Regions from separate parts of the Homo sapiens genome. Here regions 2, 3 and 4 are each linked to region 1. Evidence: promoter capture Hi-C in human tissues and cell types (Jung and others, 2019). All regions are on one chromosome and are shown on one strand. Each heading gives the region's core, a stretch centred on a gene start or on the middle of the fragment in contact. The rest is flanking DNA. Distances are from core to core; before and after follow the strand shown. Region 1 holds the start of ZNF622 (zinc finger protein 622). Region 2 has its middle 80 kb from the start of MIR887. Region 3 has its middle 86 kb from the start of MARCHF11-AS1. Region 4 overlaps MYO10 (myosin X).

What was found. The method cuts DNA at HindIII sites, captures the fragments that hold promoters and counts their contacts. A contact is called where the count stands out against the background at its distance.
Region 2: a contact is called between a fragment that was not itself captured here and the fragment with the promoter of ZNF622 in region 1, in 1 of the 25 tissues and cell types used here (mesendoderm cells).
Region 3: a fragment that was not itself captured here is called in contact with the fragment with the promoter of ZNF622 in region 1 in 2 of the 25 tissues and cell types used here (H1 embryonic stem cells and dorsolateral prefrontal cortex).
Region 4: a contact is called between a fragment that was not itself captured here and the fragment with the promoter of ZNF622 in region 1, in 1 of the 25 tissues and cell types used here (dorsolateral prefrontal cortex).

Annotation. Positions count from the first base shown.
Region 1 is chr5:16,463,251-16,468,297 of GRCh38, reverse strand. It overlaps ZNF622 (zinc finger protein 622), which reads left to right and starts at 2,498. Exons shown (of 6, transcript NM_033414.3): 1 at 2,498-3,257; 2 at 4,556-4,816; 3 at 5,028-5,047. The coding sequence starts at 2,633. RefSeq lists enhancers at 659-748, 779-838, 3,121-3,190 and a silencer at 1,091-1,313. The HindIII fragment of the contact is 5,798 bases long and covers 377-5,047 here.
Region 2 is chr5:16,012,449-16,017,495 of GRCh38, reverse strand. No RefSeq gene overlaps it. Among named protein-coding and RNA genes, the nearest start is that of MIR887, 80 kb to the right of the region's middle. The HindIII fragment of the contact is 3,027 bases long and covers 844-3,870 here.
Region 3 is chr5:16,040,896-16,045,942 of GRCh38, reverse strand. No RefSeq gene overlaps it. Among named protein-coding and RNA genes, the nearest start is that of MARCHF11-AS1, 86 kb to the left of the region's middle. The HindIII fragment of the contact is 5,341 bases long and covers 451-5,047 here.
Region 4 is chr5:16,794,754-16,799,800 of GRCh38, reverse strand. MYO10 (myosin X) reads left to right here. Exons shown (of 41, transcript NM_012334.3): 4 at 4,968-5,047. Among named protein-coding and RNA genes, the nearest start is that of MYO10, 140 kb to the left of the region's middle. RefSeq lists an enhancer at 4,520-5,047. The HindIII fragment of the contact is 4,165 bases long and covers 93-4,257 here.

The DNA.
Region 1 (5,047 bases), core at 1,249-3,748:
CAGTTAACAACTAATACTAGCTACATTTCTCAAAGTGAGTATCCAGATGGCTCAGCTATTTTAAAAGATACTGATAATCTCAAAATAAGTTTTCAGAAATAAAAATCACCATCTGACTTAACTTTTGCACTGCAAAAGATTCGTTTAACAAATACTGAACAGTTGATCTGCTGGCACTGTTCTAGCATTAGGGTATACAACAAAGGAGTGCTTGCTGTCATGGAGCTTATGTTCTATCTAGACGCAGATGACTAACATGCAGTGTGACTAGACATCCTGGTTTGCCCAGGATTGAGGGATTTCCTGGGATGCAGGACTTCCAGTGCTAAGCCTGGGAAATCAGTGACAACAAATGCTAGTGGTAGCTGATCTCCCAATGATCCCCTAAAACCACCCTGCCCCCCACTTCCCACTTCCTGGTATTCATGCCCTTATGTTAACCCTTCTCACATTAAATAGGGCTGACCTGCAAAAGTAACAACACATTGTGGAAACGACTGTGTGACTTCCAATGCTAGGTCTATGAATTTCATGTGGCTCTCTGCTGCACTCAAGCAGCCCTATGGAGAGGCCTACTTGTCAAGGAACCAAAACCTCTTGCTATCAGCTATGTAAATGAACCATCTTTAAGGGAGACTCTCCAGCCACAGTCAAATACAGTCAGATCTTCAGATGATTTTAGCCCTGGACAGCATGTTCACTGCAACCTCTTAGGAGATCTTAGTCAGAACCACCCAGCTGAGTCACTCAAATACCTGACATACAGAAACTGAAATAAAGCTTGATGCTAAATTTGGGGGTAATTTAATACAGAGTAGTAGATAACTAATACAGTACTGGAGAAAAGTTATGCCTGGTAAGGACTTAGGAAGGTAGGCACTATTTTTGGTAAGTGGATTTGGATAAGCCTCTCTTACAAAGGCATTTGGGCAGAGATCCAAAAAATAAGGAAGCAAGCCAGCAAAAGGATGTTCCAAGCAGAAGAGTAATGGATTTCTGACTTTCTGACTTAGTACCAACTAAAGTGCTTGTTAGAAGAACATCAAATGTGTCATTGCGACTCAAGTAGGGTGAGCAGGGTAGAGAAGGGGGTGTGGCAGGACCTCAGAGGGAGGGGTAGAGCCTCGGAGAATAGAAAGTAAGGTGTTTGAATTTGATTGAGTCAAGGGAAGGCACTGGAAGGTTTTTTAAAGCGCCATCTTCTTTTGGTTTTCTCTTGGCAGCCTGGATTCTGAGCATGCAACATTCGACTCTAACAAGGCTGACTCTGGTTCAACCAGGCTGTGTGGATGAAATCTACGACCTCCCCAAGCATTTGAAGTTCATGTTTTCTTTTTCTTTTGAGATGGAATCTTGCTCTGTTGCCCAGGCTGGAGTGCAGTGGCGCGATCTCGGCTCACCACAACCTCCGCCTCCCGGGTTCAAGCGATTCTCCTGCCTCAACCTCCCAAGTAGCTGGGATTACAGGTCTGCGCCACTGCGCCGGGACTAATTTTTGTATTTTTTAGCAGAGACTGGGTTTCGCCATGTTGGCCAGGCTGGTCTTGAACCCCTGACCTCAGATGATCCGCCCGCCTCGGCCTCGCAAAGTGCTGGGATTACGGGCGTGAGCCACCGCGCCTGGCCTGAAGTTCTTTTCTACAGAACTTTGCTGTCCTATATACATGAGGGTACACAGCCAACTGGGCACCTGGCACGGGTCTAGTCCAAATTGAGATGGGCTGTTAACTCTAAAACACACACTGGATTTCCAAGACTTAGAACCAACGACAGAGCGTAAAAGATCTAATTAATTCTTTTAGACTGATTACATGCTGAAATGACAGGATGGGCTAAATTAAACACATTAAAAGCAGTTTCACCGATTTCTCTTTACTCTTTAAAAATGTGGCTGCTATTAGAATTACCTACGTGGCTTGGACTGTGTGTCTACAGGGAGCTCCTCTCGCGCACTCTGTGCACTCAAATTCCGCCGGTGTCCTCCGCCGGAAGGGCCGCCTCAGAAAGGCCGAGCCCCCGGCCTGGCTTCTCCGGTTTCCCGGGAAAGCGTTGCAACCACGGGCGAGGGCTCCGAGGTCGGCCCCGAGGGGTAAGGGCAGCCCTTGCCTTCGCGACATCCATTCACCCGGCTCCGCAGGTGCAGCGCGCGGTCCTCAGAGAAACCCCGACCCTCGCGTCGCTGACCCGACCATTCATTAATCGGGGGCTTCCCAGGGCCCAGGAGCAGCCTCGGGCGCCCCACTCCCCCATTCTCGCGTAGCCGTCCCCTTGACCGCGTCACACCGAGCGGCACAACCACCAGGGAAGGTAACTGGGAGGGCGCGACCTCCCTCAATCAACAGCCACCTCGGGCTGACTGAGCGGACCCAGGTCCCTTTCAGCCACAGCGTTCCCTCGGCTTCCTGGGCCTCACGGCGGCGGAGGCGTGGCCACAGCCTGAGAGGCGGGTTTCCTGTCCAGTTGTGAATAACTTCCGACGTGTGCCGGAAGTTTCCTCAGTGACAATCAGGAAGTCGGCGTGTCGAGTGGCTCTTCCTGGCTGCTGAGGCGGGTTAAGGTCTGAGGGTCTTGTGGGGCCACGGCGCTGATCACCAGGTGTTTGGCTTGGTCGGTTCTTATTTCTCGCCTGGCAATGGCGACGTACACCTGCATAACTTGCCGGGTGGCGTTCCGCGACGCGGACATGCAGCGGGCCCACTATAAGACGGACTGGCACCGCTACAACCTGCGGCGGAAGGTGGCCAGCATGGCCCCAGTGACCGCCGAGGGCTTCCAGGAGCGAGTGCGGGCGCAGCGGGCCGTCGCGGAGGAGGAGAGCAAGGGCTCGGCCACCTACTGCACCGTTTGCAGTAAGAAGTTTGCCTCTTTCAACGCCTACGAGAACCACCTCAAGTCCCGGCGTCACGTTGAGCTGGAGAAGAAGGCCGTGCAGGCAGTGAATCGGAAAGTGGAGATGATGAATGAAAAGAACTTGGAGAAAGGACTGGGCGTGGACAGTGTGGACAAGGATGCCATGAACGCGGCCATCCAGCAGGCCATCAAGGCCCAGCCGTCCATGTCTCCCAAGAAGGCGCCCCCAGCGCCTGCAAAGGAGGCCAGGAATGTCGTGGCCGTGGGTACTGGTGGCCGTGGGACCCACGACCGAGACCCGAGTGAGAAACCACCCCGGCTCCAGTGGTTTGAACAGCAGGCGAAGAAGTTGGCAAAGCAGCAGGAGGAGGACAGCGAGGAGGAGGAAGAGGACCTGGATGGAGACGGTGATGGCCCTGTCTGGGCGGGGAGGGTAAAGAGGAACTTGGCCCACCCTTAAGTTTCCAGATTTATACTCGAGATGGGTGTGTGTGTGTGTTTGAGAGCTTTTAAGTAAAAATGATGAGGGAAGGTGGTTTAGACGCTTTCTGAAGTGCCTTATCTGGCCAGCAGGTTTGGCTGTTTAGTTCACTCAATTCATTCTCCAAGGCCTAAAACCTTGTCTGGAAAAAGAAGTGCTTAATGCATATTTGGAGAATGAATTGATGCCTTCTGTGTTTTGGATGAAGAGGCTTTTAACATATGCACAGGAGGACATGCTATCGTCATACCAGCTGCCGTGTAATTTGCGATTCTAGTGGGTTTCCAGTTATGATGGTTTTGCACTTAATTTAGTTGAGTAAAACAGAATGAGGGGATCAAAACCAACTCAGCCAGAAATTTGGAGCTGGAGCCAGCACCCTCACCTCTTTGCCTTTATGAGCTATTTATTCCTTACTTCCCTCATCCCACATCCTATTAACAGTGCTGGTGTAGGTGTTCATGTCTTAGTCTGTCCACTCTGCTATAAGGAAGTACTAGAGACTGGGTGATTTATGAACAACATAAATGTATTTTCCCATAGTTCTGGAAATTGGGAAGTCCAAAATCAAGGTGCTGGCAGAGTCAGTGTCTGGTGAGGGCCTGTTCTATAGATGAAGTTTTCTCATGGTGTCATCATGTGGTGGAAGAAGCAGAAGGCAAAAAAGGGGCTAGCCAGTTCCCTCGCACTAATCCATTTATTCAGGATTAGTGCTTGCCTAACCTAATCACCCACTAAAGGCCCCACCTCTTAATGCCATTTCATTGATGATTAAGTTTCAACATTTGAATTTTGGGAGGGAAACATGCATTCAAACCATAGCCGTTCATAGAGCACCCTACCAGCACATACACACACCCCATAGTACTTTTGTGAAATAGTAGATAGAGGCATTGTTTTAGAAGTTTATAAAAATATCCAGGCAGGTAGGAGACTTCCTAACTATATTTTCAGCACTGGGCTAGGTGCTGTAAGGCATAGGAAAGAAACAAAGAAAAGATTCCTGTTTCCTGGAAAAGAAAGACTAAGGAGTTTCATGGCCATTCAGATGAGTCTGTGGTAAACAAATAGCTAAAATTGAGATCTTGAAAGAGGAGTTGTCCTTGGGAGTTGGGGTGTGGCTGTTTCTCCAAATATAGGACTGTATCACCTCGTGAATTTTTGTGATATCTTTGCTTGCTACTACTTTTCTTAAACTTTATATTTCAAAATTCTGGCTTGCAGATTGGGAAGATATTGATTCTGATGAAGAATTGGAATGTGAGGATACTGAAGCAATGGACGATGTGGTGGAGCAGGATGCAGAGGAGGAAGAGGCTGAGGAAGGCCCACCCCTTGGTGCCATCCCTATCACGGACTGCTTATTTTGTTCCCATCATTCCAGCTCGCTGATGAAGAATGTGGCTCACATGACCAAAGACCACAGTTTCTTTATTCCTGATATAGAATATCTTTCAGATATTAAGGGACTGATTAAATACTTGGGTAAGTACAATAGTTTTCCTTTTAATGAGGAAATAATCACATTATTGGGGGACTGGTCTCAAGGGAACATTAGTTTTGCATTTTTCATCAATCTTTGATATAATTGCTTGGTTATTTTGTGAATGATTTTTGAGTTTTGGTGACAAATAGTGAGATTTAATCTGGTTGCAAAAAGCTTTTTTCATATTTTTTCCTTAAATTATTTTTCTAGGAGAGAAAGTTGGTGTTGGC
Region 2 (5,047 bases), core at 1,108-3,607, 450 kb after region 1:
AGGCCATGTGTCTAAAACCATATGTTGATCACAACACACCATGAGACAGACCCCTAGTGCTGATGGTGAAAGAGAAATAAGAGGAAAAGAGCCTGGATCTCCAACAGCCTGGAGCCCCCCACTCTACACCACTCTAGTTTATGGGAAAGAGAGACACTCTTCTAAATTTCTTAGATCATGGGTATTTTGAGTTTAAGGTCCCTCTTTGTCCAATCTATTTCTCACTAATATAGGCACCTAAATTTTTACTTACTGTACAGTGACTGCCTATATTAGTGAGAAATGTAAACTGATCCTATATTCTATCTTACTTTGTTTATTCCTTCACTTTGAATGGAGAGAAAAGGCAGAGATATTATAGCATTTCCCAGCAGAAAGTAGAGAATCAGATGAGAAATGACATTAACATAGTAAGAGCAAGGTTGGTGCCCTGAGTAAATCACAAAGGGCTAGGGTTTAAGTGGCCCCAACCCCAGCTCTGCTACAAGAGCCTATTGATTATTTGTACCCCATGGGCCACATAAGAGTCAGGGGTCTGGGATGCAAGAAACTAAAAAACAAAAACAAAAGCATAAGAACAAAAAAACTAAAACTTTGGCTGACTTAAGCAGGTAAGTATTTTATTAAGAAGACATGAAGTAGCTCTCGGGACAACCACGAAGGGCATAGGACAAGCTTGGAAAATGCTCAGGAACATGAGGTCCTGGAAGCAACTAGGACTGTAAGCAAACCACACAACAAAACCAGTCAGGGAGGACACCATTGCTGTTGCCAGAACTGAGCAAGAATACTGCATTGCAGCATCAAGCCTGGAGCTCCTGAAATCACGACTGCCACTGCCCACCATCAGAAGGGAATCTCCCTACCTTTTTACATCTCAAGCTCCCAATTCAGAATTTGGAATAGGTACTTCAGATTAGTGCAGCCTTGGTCATGTGCCCATACTTAGCTGCAAGGGAGGCTGAGAAGGTGAAAGTTTGAGGTTTTCAGCATCTAGAGTGAAAATCAAGCTTTGCTTCCTACTGAGACTCATGAGCTGAGGAATTTCCCATTTGTAAGAGGGCTTCAGATGCCCAATAGCTACAGAGAGAGAGAGAGAGAGAGAGAGAGAGAGAAACTTTACCATAGGACTCCATTTCCTCTTCTGCAAAATGAAGTCTCCAAAGTTGTTCTAACTTTTCAGACGTTCTGATTCTACAGCAGTAACATTTAGATGTTTATGCATATTATGAATATGTTTCTTGTCATTTAAAAAAATATGGGAGGAAGCAGCTCATAGAGCTTATGCTTTCTGAGCTCCTTGGATCTGGCCAAGAATCTTGAGAGCAAATATGTTTCATTTTGCATGCTAACACCTATTGATTGATTGTGGTTTCGAAAACTGTTATGCAAATATAATTTAGAGAATGACTCCATCTTCACCAGGAAAGATAGTTTGGATCAATTAGCAGGGACTTCCATGCAGGGGTAAGAGTGAGGGAGGGTACCACCTGTGTGACCCATCAACAAATTGTAGCCAAACTCAGAAATATTAGGGGCCAGAGCCTCTCCTCGCATTGTTCTTTCTCACCAGAGAGAGAGCTGCAAGTGGGAACCCGTCCCTGAGGAGAGCTTCAGATCGAGGTTGAAAGTAGCCAGGACTCTGCCCAACAGGGACAGAGGGCCCAGTACTCAGCCAGACCAATTGCCCCACAGTTTTACAGCCAGCACAGTCATACAGAGCCTCCAGGTCATCAGTCATAGTGTAGACACTTGTCCAGACAAGTGACCTTAAGTGACCTTAGCAGAGACATTTTAGAAGACCTGGGTATTATGATCAAGGCAGGCTTTGCTTGCATTGGGGAGTTCTTTACCCAGAACACAAGTCCTGAGGTGATACTGCTCCGTGGAGGATTTCAGAGAAAATGTGAATGTGCTGGGGTGGAGGGAGGCTGGAGAAGCAGATCCAAAAAAAAGGATAAAATTCTTGGCTTAGGAAACTTTGGGGACTCTCCACACAATTTTTTTGCTCTTAGTGGATTCTGCATTCCCTTCCAACTCATCTGCCTAATTCACTCTTGGGTTTGGTCCCTCTGGGATGAACTAACTTGGTTCATGAGAATGGCAGTAACACCAATGTTGCAGAGGACAGTTAGCAACCTGTGATTTGGCACACGGATCAGTCATTAGTATTCATCTAAATATCCACCAGGAATGTGAGTGTGTCCTGTGGCAGTTGGTTGGAAATGTGAGATTCTGGTAGCAAAAGCAGTGGAAGTTTAATCATTGGCAATCCTCACTAGATAAGGCTCTCCGCTAATCAGGTGTGAGTCTTAAACAGATAGAATCCATCTGTTAAGGGAGATTAGAAATATTTCCCATTAAATAGGCTCTGGATGTGACCAAATCATGAGAGAGTTAGGGAAGCAAATTATGAGATTCTGGAAGCAGTTAAGAAGGAGTGGCTTTTGGGGAAGCCAGATTCCCAATTGGTTTTTTTGTTTCAAAAATTAGTCTTTTAAAAAGACTTTTTATTATATTTCAGGCCCGCCACAAAGGATAGAAAACATGATAAACAATTGTGTGTCAACTATCCAAGAAAAAAACAGGTTCCAGGGCATTTGCAGCTAAAGCATCATATATAAGATGTAAAGAAGTCCTTTTCGTTTCTAATCTCTTCATGTAAAGAACGCGTGAATGCAAATCTCAGTGCTACATATGATTCTTTCTCATTGTATAGTCCCTTCTCTTTACTGGTTTTGAATGACTTTTGTTTGTTTCTAAAAGTCAGATCAGCTCTAGGATGACGGTTTTACTCTATAAAGGGATGTTGAAGGGAAAACATTACATGCTCTGAAGGCCATTTTAGTGATGAGATACCAAAGAAAGTTTGCTAAAAAGCAATATCATTGGAATCAGGGTATAAATCTCCAAGGTGGTAACTTTGAGGGGATGACAGCCACTTACTTGACTGTGTAAAATCTTGAGTGGCCAGAAACAACCATCACGTAATTTTATAGTCAGCATTATTGCCAAAGTCTTCATGGAAGGAGTTTCTATAAATTTTCACGGTAATATTTGTAACTCTTCCTGCAGAGACATTCCTTTTTATGTCAACTCTAAACCTATTCTCCTGCAATCCAGCTGATTACATTCTGCTTGACCCTGAATCATAACAATAGCTGTTATTTGAACCTCAAAATGGCTCTCTGCCTACGAGGTGGGTACTATTATAGCCCTTGTTTACAGATTAGTAGCATCAGGTTTAGTGAGATTAAGAACTTTTCCCAAAGTCAAACAATTAGGAATGAAGAAAGCTGAAGATTCACACCGCCAACTGAGCCCCCTTAACCACTGTTCTTCAGATTCCCATGGCAAAAAATGGCTTCTCAGACACAAGAGCTCATTTTTCATGGAGGTGAAATGGATACACATTTCTCCAACACACAAATTGAACCCATTTTGGTTGGGTTGCTATGGCCTCAGATTCCACCAGGTCTTCCAAATCTGATAAAAGTGAGTGGTCTAGGGCAGAGCTGTACATAGAATATGTGCCACATATTCAGAGTGAGCTGTCATCTCTAACCGTGGCTTCCCTAAAGAAGCTTAACTCCATCTCCTTGGAAATAGGTGGATTTGGTTCCTTGGCATCCGTTGCTAGGTGACTCACTGCCTGCATCAGTCAGCCAGAATTATAGGTGCAAGGCAGAATACAGGCATACCTCATTTGATTGCACTTTGCTTTATTTATTTTTTTTAATAATTGAAGGATTAGGGCAACCCTGTGTCAAGCAAGTCTACTGATGCCATTTTTCCAACAGCATGGACTCACTTCATGTCTCTGTGTCACATTTTAGTGATTCTCACAAAATTACAAACTTTTTCATTATTACTATATTTGTTATGATGATCTGTGACCAGTGATCTTTAGTGTTCCTATGGTAATTGCTTTGGGGCATTATGAGTCATACCCATATAAAACAGAAAATTTAACCCATAAATGTGTGTTCTGACTACTCCACTGACCAGCTGTTTCCCCATCTCTCTCCCTCTTCTCAGTCGTCCCTATCCCCTGAGACACAAAATATTGAAATTATGCCAGTTAGTAAGCCTACAGTAGCCTCTAAATGTTTAGGTGAAAGAATGAGTGGCATGTCTCTCACTTTAAATCAAAAGCTTAGTGAGAAAGGCATATTGAAAGCCAAGATAGGCTGAAAGCTAGGCCTCTTAAGTCAAACAGTTAGACAAGTTGTGAATGCAAAGAAAATGTTCCTGAAGGAAATTAAAAGACCCATTCCAGTGAGCACACAAATGATATAAAGGAAAACAGCCTCCCTGCTAATACAAGGGAAGTTTTAGTGGTCTAGAAAGAAGATCAAACTGGCAACAACATTCCCTTAAGTCAGAGCCCAATCCAGAGCATGGCCCTAACTGTCTTCAATTCTATGAAGGCTGAGGAGAGGTGAGGAAGTTGCAGTAGAAAAGTTTGAAGCTAGCAGAGGATGGATCATCAGGTTTAAGGAAAGAAGTGATTTCCAGAACATGAAAGTACAAGGTGAAGCTGTAAGTGCTGATGTAGAAGTTGTAGCAAGTTATTGAGAAGATTAGCTAAGATCATTGGTAAAGGTGGCTACACTAAACAACAGATTTTCAATGTAGATCAGTCAATGCCTGGCTTCAAAGCTTCAGAAGACAGGTTAAGTCTCTTGTTAGGGTCTAATGCAGCTGAGGACTTTAAGTTGAAGCTAATGCACATTTATAATTCCCAAATTTCTAAGGCTCTTAACAGTTATATTAAATGTATTCTGCCTTTCCTCTATAAATGGAACAACGAAACCTGGATGACAGCTTATCTGTTTACGATATGGTTTTTTGAATATTTTAAGTCCACTGGTAAGACCTACTGTTTAGAAAAGAAGATTCTTTTCCAAATTCTATTCCTTATTAACAATGCACCTGGTCACTCAAGAGCTCCGATGGAGATATACAAGGAGATTAATGCGGTTTTCATGCCTGTTAACACAACATCCATCCTAAAACCCATGGATCAAGGAGTAATTTCAAATAT
Region 3 (5,047 bases), core at 1,872-4,371, 420 kb after region 1:
GATTCTGCATCAGATTTCTTTACACATATCTCCAGGTTTACTTCACATTAAAGGAACTAAAACTAGATAATGGTGAGCATATGTTATGTGTGTGGTTTCTTCCAGAAAAGCAGTGCTGAATTGCAATTAGCAGACCCTCTACTGAAAGAAAAGTCCTTGCCAAATTGTACATTCATATGTTTTAAAAAAAAAAGTTTAAGATTTGCATAAATCAGCTTTTAACAATTCCCAGTTTTAATTGGCGTTTTCAATTAATTAATTGTGGATACTTCTTGCTTTTAGTAAGAAGGCTACCATCGTACTTGACTCCCTTTTTCTTCCATTTTCTCATCTGTAAAATAGATATCAGAATTATGATACTGACTTCGTAGAGTTTTTGAAATAATTAGCTAAAACAATCTACTTAAACATTTGGCATGTAGAAAGCATTTGATTATTGTAGTTATTATTATTTTGCATTACATGGAGGAGAGACAGTCTTGTGATAGTGTAAGTGATAGGAAGTTAACAGTGAAGACTTGGGGAAGTAAGGAGGCTCAGAAGACCACCTCCCATAGTCATTGTCTTGGAGAACTGAAGCAGCATTACAGATCCTTAGGAGGTCTATGTCCTCTTGTCCTCTTTGTCAATAGCACCTATTGGGACCCACTCTAGTGAATTTGTCATTCTCAACCTCTTTTCTAGCTGCTTCTTTTTCTACTCTTGGAGTTTCACAACAACTTCCCTGCCTCTATTTCTTTTCTCTACTTCTTGTGTCACTCATTCAACTCCTCTACAGAGAGGCTCTCATTGGGTTGGCTGCTCTTTGTCCAAAGAAAGGAGCATGTGTATTTGGCACTTGACCACCTTGTCAACCACAGGTCTACCGTATACATCATGTGGCCTTTACCTGAGAAACAAATCTCTGGTACAATCTGTTGTGGCCAAGATATCTGTGTCTAACGACACAGAGAGCAAGATAACACATGTACTTCCCCTCTGGCCATAGGTGTAGTAAGGGTATAGAGTCTCTGGAACATCAGTTTATGGCTGATGATCAGCCTGATGCCTACCTACAGTCATTGTGGACGTTTATACTGGTGATCATTCTGTTTGATCAGTGCTGGGGCTCTACCAGTTGTCTTTACATTCACCTCTGTATGGTGATTATTGGAAGATAACCACTTGGAAGAAAGGGCATGAGAAAAGGCATGGGTGGAAATCAGGCTTTAGTTTTTAGTCTTGGCTTTATCACCAGCAACTCTCTCTCTCTCACACACACACACACACACATACACGCAGTCTACATTTCTCATTCCAGTTCTCCAAAAACTAATTTGAAGTAAAAGTCATGTATTACTATCACAAAATATTCTCAAAGTATGCACTTGAGCAAAGGTATAGATAATTTTTCCTCATTATTCCTCCTGTGGGCCCTACTCTGCCAGAGTTACTGTCTTAGATGCCTCATTGAAACACCAAGAAAAACACAAGAATTGAAGCCATTTGCCCGATTGAAACCAGAATGTGACAACATTTGCCATTCTGGCTGCTTAATATTTCAGCATCCTTCAATCTTTAGTGAATATGTACATTCTATCTTTAGAACACGTCTAGAGAAAACAATTCCAAAAATGATGCGGAGGGAATCCATGTGGAATCAATTGTTTAAAATGCCCAGCAAATAATCTTCTGTTTGGAACACTCCAATGCCCTAAATAGAGTTAAGATTAAAATAACTCTCCTAGCTTACCTCTGGCCAGAAAGTTGGGGAAAAGGGGTGTTCCAACATTATGGAGTAAGAATTTCCATAGAAGATTCTGCTATGTTATGCCCAACATCTAGCTGATTTCTTCTGTCCTTACACCTCCCTAGTCTCCCCTACCTTGCATGAGCCTGGCAGTTCATTTCCTTTCTAGATAGAGTAAAGGAATAGTGAGTTCACCCTAAGACAGACAAGTTAGTACCAGGAGGTACAAATAAAATGAATAATCAAATGGACTATCCGGACCTCACACCAGCCTCAGCTAACAGTATCCAGAGCATTGCTCAGTGATGTGTATTTTATCACTTGGGGCAGAAGGAAAAATGTCTTTCCATACAGCCCAGGCCAAAAAAGTCATTTTTAAATAGGGAGCTAAACTCACTCACTTTTCCCAGCGTGGATCCTTAAGGCCCCTTTGGATTGGGTTTCATGGAATGTGGTTTTATCAGAAATATCCTTGGTTCTTACTTCGTGCATATTTCAGGGCATAAGTAATGAACCAGACATTACACGAAGTGATTTTCCAAAACATCAGGAAAAATACATTTCCTCCATCAAATGGCTTCCCCTACCCATAATCCCAAGCTTCACATCTCACAGTGTCTCCTTTTATTCATCCTAATTAGCAATAAGTGAATCCAGTCCCATTCTGTAGTCAGCCAATTTACAATTGGATTTTATGTGCATTTTAGATTCAGCAACCTGCTGTTATCCAGCCCCAGATACCTCCTCATCTATGATCAAGGGAAGTGTCTGTTTTTGATTTATTTCTACCCAGCAAGAAAAGTTGATTCTATGCCTATATCCGACACACTATTACCTTGCACTTTTTGTATATTTCTCATTTTTGAGAACTTTACAGTGTTAACATGTGATGGCTAATTCATTGTTTATTTTACTGCTGAGTTGACTGCACAGGGTGGGCATCAGGATCCATTCTGTAAAGAAAAACTATCCAAGGTCAAGGTCACAAACCATGGTGCAAAAGCAGGAGGGATGTCAAACAACCAGACAGAGACAAGCAAGTTGTCCATTCTCCAAGTTATCGCCTCAGGATGACCTTTCTGAGCTAGGAGTCCTCTCTCCTAGAAGTTTACCTTATTGGCAAACTACTGGAGAACGTTCTCTGTATCCTCCTCTCTGCGCCCCCACCCCCCACCTTAATGCTTAAGGGCCACAGGGACTTTTATGAAAAGGAAGGAATGAGCTTCACACATGTGATCTAATTCAGGATCAAAGACCCTCTCGAAACTAATGATTTGCTATCATTAGTTAGAAAATGACTCATGGGTCATTTTCCAACAACATAAGTCAGAACCTGCTTCCCTTGGGGAGCTCTTATTTATTCCATACTGGGCTCAGACTGAGCCCTCTAGGATTTCTTAACTATTCCTTAGGATGAGAAGGGCCTGCCTAAAAGTCTACAACACCCCAGATTGGTAGACCCAAGATGTGTGAACAAAAAGCAACCCCAGACTCTCAAAAGGCCAATGCCCTGGGCTCCTTTTGTGCCCTAATGCCCAATTTCATATCCACAATGATAGGCTTGAAATTTCCCAGTGTGTCTTTTTATTCAGTTTAAATAGCAATGAGTAAATTTCTTCTAGAAGAAGCTTGAGAGGGAGAGTCTCCCTGTGGCTTGGCCAGAAGTTGAGCTGAAGGAGCCAGTCCTTGTTATACAGCCATTTGGGATCAGCAGCCCAGGCAGGCTGCCCACATCCTAGGTGCATCTGGTTCATCCTCAGATAGCCAATGTGGCCCTTACAGTGTTGGGAATAGTGCCTTTTACTCTGTCCCAGGTACCACATGAAAGTCATGTCCTGCAGCACCCTCAGGCAAGGACTAGCCAAAGCCCCGCTATCTTCACTGAAGGTTTCTGCCTACACTGACCACTCAACCCTCCACACTGAACATAATGTCCATGACTGTCCCCCAAAACTTGCTCAATCAGAGCCCATGAAAAGGTGTCCTGAAACCAACCTTGTGTGTTTTTATACTGGCACCTCTAGGGGAGCTCACTTAGAGCCCTACTTCTCCTCTGTACCCCTCTCTCTGAAGACCTTGCATTACTATCAATTTCACAGCCTAGGCTAGTCATTTCCAAATCATCTGTACTTGAAAACATCTTTGGTAGGAGAAGGGAGGAGCTAGATACAGAACTATGCATTTATCCATTCCAACCGGGCATGGTGGTTCAAGCCTGTCATCCCAGCACTTTGGGAGGCCTAGGTGGGAGGATCATTTGAGGTCAGGAGTTCAAGACCAGCCAGACCAACATGGTGAAGCCCCGTCTCTACTAAAAATACCAAAAAATTAGCCTAGCATGGTGGTGCATGCCTGTAGTCCCAGCTACTTGGGAGGCTGAGGCAGGAGAATCACTTGAACTCAGGAGGTGAAGATTGCAGTGAGCCAAAATCATGCCACTGCACTCCAGCCTAGGTGAAAGAGCAAGACTCTGTCAAAAAAAAAAAAGAACTATGTATTTATGCATTCCAAAAAAATATTTATTGAGCACCTATTATAGGCAAGACATGATGGATACATGAATTACAGCAATGAAGAAGTTACAGTCCCTGACAGCAAGGACACACCCAACAGGCAGCCTATGTCCAAGACAGTATGAGAAGTCTGGGGAACAGTAGGCCCCAGGGCTGTGGGGGCAGAGGGGAGGGGGTCTAATCATATGTTACCAGGATAAGGGAGGCCATCATAAGACGTCCAGACACCCATGTGTTGCTTCAAGTGTGTTTATTAATTGAATAGCTAAATCCACAGGCATATTATTTTTCATCTGTATGAGATGAATTTAAAAGTGTACTAGATGTGTGGAAACCTTCTGTTCTGTGTGACTCATTCTTCAGTGAAAACACTCCTATCATGAGGAGGAACAGCAGGGATTGTGGAGCCGGCCTGCCTGGTGCACACCTCAATTCCCCCTTACCAGCTGTGTGATGTTGGGGGAGTCACTTTAACTTCCCCGTGCCTTGGTATCTCATCTGTAAAACAGCATGATATTATTTACCTCATAGGGGTGGGATAAACAGTAATAGAATCAGTACACAGAAAGGACTTAAGTGGGGCTTGGCACTTGATAGGTCTTCTGAAAACATTAGCTACAGTTATAATCATGTAGGGGGAGACATGAAATATTCTGTGGATTCAAATGGGCTGTGGTCAGAAAAATGCAAATCAAAACCACAATGAAATATCATTTCACCTCAGTTAGAATGACTATCTTGAAAAGACAAAAAATAACATATGTTGCCCAGAGAAAAGGGAACTCTTACACCCTGTTGGTGGGAA
Region 4 (5,047 bases), core at 926-3,425, 330 kb before region 1:
CTTTCTCAGCCGGGCACAGTGGTTCATATCTGTAATCCCAGCACTTTGGGAGGCTGAGGTGGGTGGATCACCTGAGGTCAGGAGTTTGAGGCCAGCCTGGCCAAAATATATGAAATCCCGTCTCTAGTAGAAATGCAAAAATTAGGTGGGCGTAGGGGCACACACCTGTTATCCCAGCTACTTGGGAAGCTGAGACAGGAGAATCGCTTGAACACGGGAGGCGAAGGTTGCAGTGAGCCGAGATTGTGCCACTGTTCTCCAGCCTGGATGACAGAGCGAGACTCAGTCTCAAAAAAAAAAAAAAGTATTTCTCTTCTAAAGCACTGCTGATTCTGGTGGAAGAGGACCTGTGGACATTGATTTCTGGGTTGCATATGTTGTCTCTAGTTGCCACAGCTACTACATTGTCATTCTGAAACATTTAAAAACTATTTCACTGGACAAGGTGTGGTGTGAATTACTGTAAAAAGTCAAGCATGAGACCATTTTGGATGTTGCGTCTTCACCTTTGCTAACAGGCTTAATGCCACTTTGTCTTCTACCTTCATTCAAAGCCCATGTCATCCACACTGTCAGAACGAGCAGTATCTTAAAAGGATGCTCTATGGCTAGTGAGGTTCCCCAACCAGGAGGAGGAATATGGTTTAAAAAACATGATCATTCTTTTGAAGAAAGCTGTGTAAGAAGTTTTAATAATGGTTTTATAAGTAAATCAGTGCCTTAAGAAAGAAAGGCTCATCTTAGAATTTTACAGCAACCATACAAACGTGTCATGAATGGGGCATGCAAAATGATATGGGCATATCATTTTTTAAAAGGTGTGTTAATGATGGGTGAATATCCTAATAATAAATTAATTAAATTTAATAATAAGCTTAATGCCCATGACTGTGGCTTTCACCCTCTGCTTGCAACTGAGGAAGAGGATTGGTGTGTGCTCAGTTGAGCCCGCCGTGTTGATGGTTGGCAGTGTTGACTGTTGCTTGTCAGCTTCCTCTGACCTACCTGGCTGCATAAAGAGTGACAGTCCTGTCACAGTAGGGAAAAAAATAAGAATGTATTTCACAGTAAAAATGAACATTTTTGATACTTAGCAGAAAAAAGAAAATAATGTAAACAACTATCAAAAAGGTAGAAAACAAACATGGCATTTTAAACAAAGTAGTGGAAGGGGCCAGGCACTCACAGCCTCAAGTATTGTCTGCCTGCTCCCTCACCTCTGCAGATGTTAGATAGAAGGAGGCACTGGAGTGTCTGTGGTCCAGGCACTGATGGAGGATGGAGGCATCCCAAGGAGTAGGACACTTTTTTTTTTCCAACTTCCATCTTTTTTTTTCTGGCCAAATCTTCCCCATAGTGCTCCGACAGGACAAAATGGGTTTTCTAGAGAGTTGATGTTTCCAAGGACCTGAACATTTACTCATAAAAGCACCAGATCTTTTTTTTCTAATTAAGGTGAAATTCATTTAACATAAAATTAACCATTTTGAAGTGTACAACTCAGTGGCATTTAGTACATTCACAATGCTGTACAACCAACAACTCTGTTTCAGTATGCTTTCTGCTGCCAAAACAGGATACCACACACTGGGTAATTTATAAGGAGCAAAAGTTTACTTGGCTTATGGTTCTGGAGACTGGCCAGTCCAAGAGCATGGCGCTGGCATCTGGTGGGACCCTCTTGCTGTGTCATGGCCTGAGGCATCACATGATGAGAAAGCTTGAGTGTGAGACAGAGAGAATGCATGTCGAACTTACTCTTTTATTAAGAGCCCACTCTGCAATAACTAACTCACTCCTGCAATAATGGCATTAATCCATTATGAGAGCAGAGCCCCATGACATAATCAGCTCTTACCTTTGTAATCACCTTCCTAATACTGTTACAATGGCAATTAAATTTCAACACAAGTTTAGGAGGGGACAAACATTCAAACCATACAACCTGTATCTTAGTTCTACAATATTTTTATCACCTTAGGTGGAAACCCTGTACCAGTGAAGCAGTCATTCCCCTCTCCTGCCACTGTCTGCTTTTAGCAACCACCCATCTTGCTGTTTCTATGGACTTAACCTATTCTGGATATGTGAACTTTTGTGTCTGGCTTAATATGTCTCCAAGGCTCATTCACATTGTAGCATGGATCAGCACTTTATTCCTTTTTGTGGCTAAGTAATATTACATGGTGTGGGTATGCCACATCCATTCATCTGATGATGGGCCCTTGGCATTGTTTCCACCTTTGGCTGTTGTGAATGGTGCTTCTGTGAACATGTGTGTACAAGTGTTTGAGTATTTTCTTTCGCTTCTTTTTGATATGTATCTAGGAGTGGAATCGCTGGGTCATATGGTAATATCTTTTATGTTTTTAACCTTTTTTTAAATCTTTTGCTTCATATTATTTCCAAAACACATTCCAGGTTGAGTAACCCTTATCCAGAATGCTTGGGACCTGAAGTGTTTTGGACTTCTGATATTTTCTCTGATTTAGAAGTATCTGCATTATACTTACCAGTTGGGCATCCCTCATCAGAAAATCTGAAATCTGAAATGCCCCCATGAACATTTCTTTTCAGCATCATGTTGGTGCTCAAAAAGCTTCAGATTTTACAGCATTTCAGATTTTGGTTTTCGGATTAGTGATACTCAACCTGTATGGACTTATTTGCATTTGAAAAGTTATACTGAACAAAACAATACTTTGCTTGATGTTCCTGGCTGATACTATGAATATAAAATATTACAAATTGCTATAATATGGTATAGATGCTCTCAGGATGTTTGGACTTTCTGTCTAGTTTTCTTGTTTTTTGTTACCCTCCGCCAACCCCCCTGGGTGTATGCATCCCTGGTGTCTTTTTGTGTGTTCAAATTTCCTCTTCTAACAAAGACACCAGTCAGATTGGATTAGGGCCCACCCTAATGGCCTCATTTTAAGTTAGTCACTTATTTAAAGCCCCTATCTCCAAGCATAGTAACATTCTTAAGTACTTGGGATTAGGGCTTCAGCATGTGAATTTGGGGAGAAGGCATGAATCAGCCCTTAACAGCCCATAAAGCCCTAGACACACTGTACGAGCTTTGTAAAAGTTGGTTGGTGGTTAGTGGTTGATGGTGGTTGCAGGACTCTCTGCTCCCACCCCTGTCTGACTGACTTCCCTAGTTGTGTCTGAGCCTGGAAGCCAGGTAATCAGAGTTAGTATTTCCTGTAAAAGTAGAAGTGAATAGTTATGTCCACATGGAGAGGCCTAAGGCATTAAGCTTTGGTAACTCTGTAGCCTCTATTTATTTATTTATTTTCCTTCTTTCTTTCTTTCTTTTCTTTTCTTTTCTTTCTTTCTTTCTTTCTTTCTTTCTGTCTTTCTTTTCTTTCTTTTTCCTTTCTTTCCTTTCTTTTTCTTTTGTGTTGTGTTCTGTTCTTTTCTTTTTCTTCCCTTTCTTTCCTTTCTTCCTCTCTTTCCCTTTCTTTCCTTTCTTCCTCTCTTTCCCTTTCTTTCCTTCTTTCTTTTCTTCTTTCTTTCTTTCCTTCTTTCTTTCTCTCTCTCTCTCTCTCGCACGCTCGCTCTTTCTCTTTCTCGCTCTCTCTCTGTTCTTTCTTTTTTTTTTTTTTTTTGACAGAGTCTCGCTCTGTCGCCCAGGTTGGAGTGCAGTGGCGCAATCTTGGCTCACTGCAACCTCCACCTCCCAGGTTCAAGAGATTCTCCTGCCTCAGCCTCCCGAGTAGCTGGGATTACAGGTGTGTGCCACCGGGCCTGGCTAATTTTTTGTATTTTTAGTAGAGACGGGGTTTCACTCTGTTAGCCAGGGTGGTCTTGGTCTCCTGATCTTGAGATCCTCGCACCTCGGCCCCCCAAAATGCTGGGATTACAGTCGTGAGCCACTGCGCTCGGTCTGATACCTAGCATTTTCGAAATGGTCACGTTATCTTTTAAAAGCTGTAGCTAACTCTGCATAGCATAAAATTTGCCATTTTGACTATTTTGAAGTGTACAATTCAGTCATATTAGGTACATTCACAGACCTAGCACTTTGGGAGGCCAAGGAGGGAGGATCACTCAAAACCAGGAGTTCGAGACTAGCCTGGGTAACAAAGCAAGACCATGTCTCTACAAAAAAAATTAAAAATAAAAATAAATAATAATAAGGACATTCACAATGTTCTGCATCCACAAGTACCAACCACTTCCATAACTTTTTTTGAGATGGAATCTCACTCTGTCGCCCAGGCTGGAGTGCAGTAGCACTATCTCGGGTCACTGCAACCTCTGGCTCCTGGGTTCAAGTGATTCTCCTTTCCCAGCCTCCTGTGTAGGGATTACAGGCAGGCATCACCATGCCTGGCTAATTTTTGTATTTTTAGTAGAGATGGGGTTTCACCATGTTGGCCAGGCTGGCCTTGAACTCCTGACCTCAGGTGATCTGCCCGCCTCAGCCTCTGGAAGTGCTGGGATTACAGGCATGAGCCACCAGGCCCGGCCCACTTCCAGAACTTCCCCATCACCCTAAATAGAAACTCTGCACCCATTAAATTGTAAATGTCCTTCTCCCCCAACCCCTGGCTACCTCTCTTCTCCTTTCTGTCCCGTCACTTTTTAACCATGCTGTTTCACAGTAGCCATTTAATGAGACAGGAGACTGGACCTGGCCAGTCCTTTGCCCATGGGAAGGGATTAAGATTGGTGAGGTCAGCGGGGAGCAGGGATCTGGGCCTGGGGAGCAGGGACTGGGCCTGGGCCGCCTCACCATCTTCCTTCTCTTGTTTCCCTTTCACTGCCATCCCTCTTTGAAATGGCTTCATTCATTTGTCCAGAATATCAAGATTTGGTACCCAGAAAGGCAGGGACAGTGTGCACCCGGGAGACAGAAGACGTCTTTCCCCCTGGCGCACACTCGGTGGGTTTTGTTGGAGCTCATCCAGTGGCCTGGGTTAGAAGTGACGCATCCCTGTCTCACTCTGTGCTTGCAGACCTACATCGGCTCCATCCTGGCCTCCGTGAACCCCTACCAGCCCATCGCCGGGCTGTACGAGCCTGCCACCATGGAGCA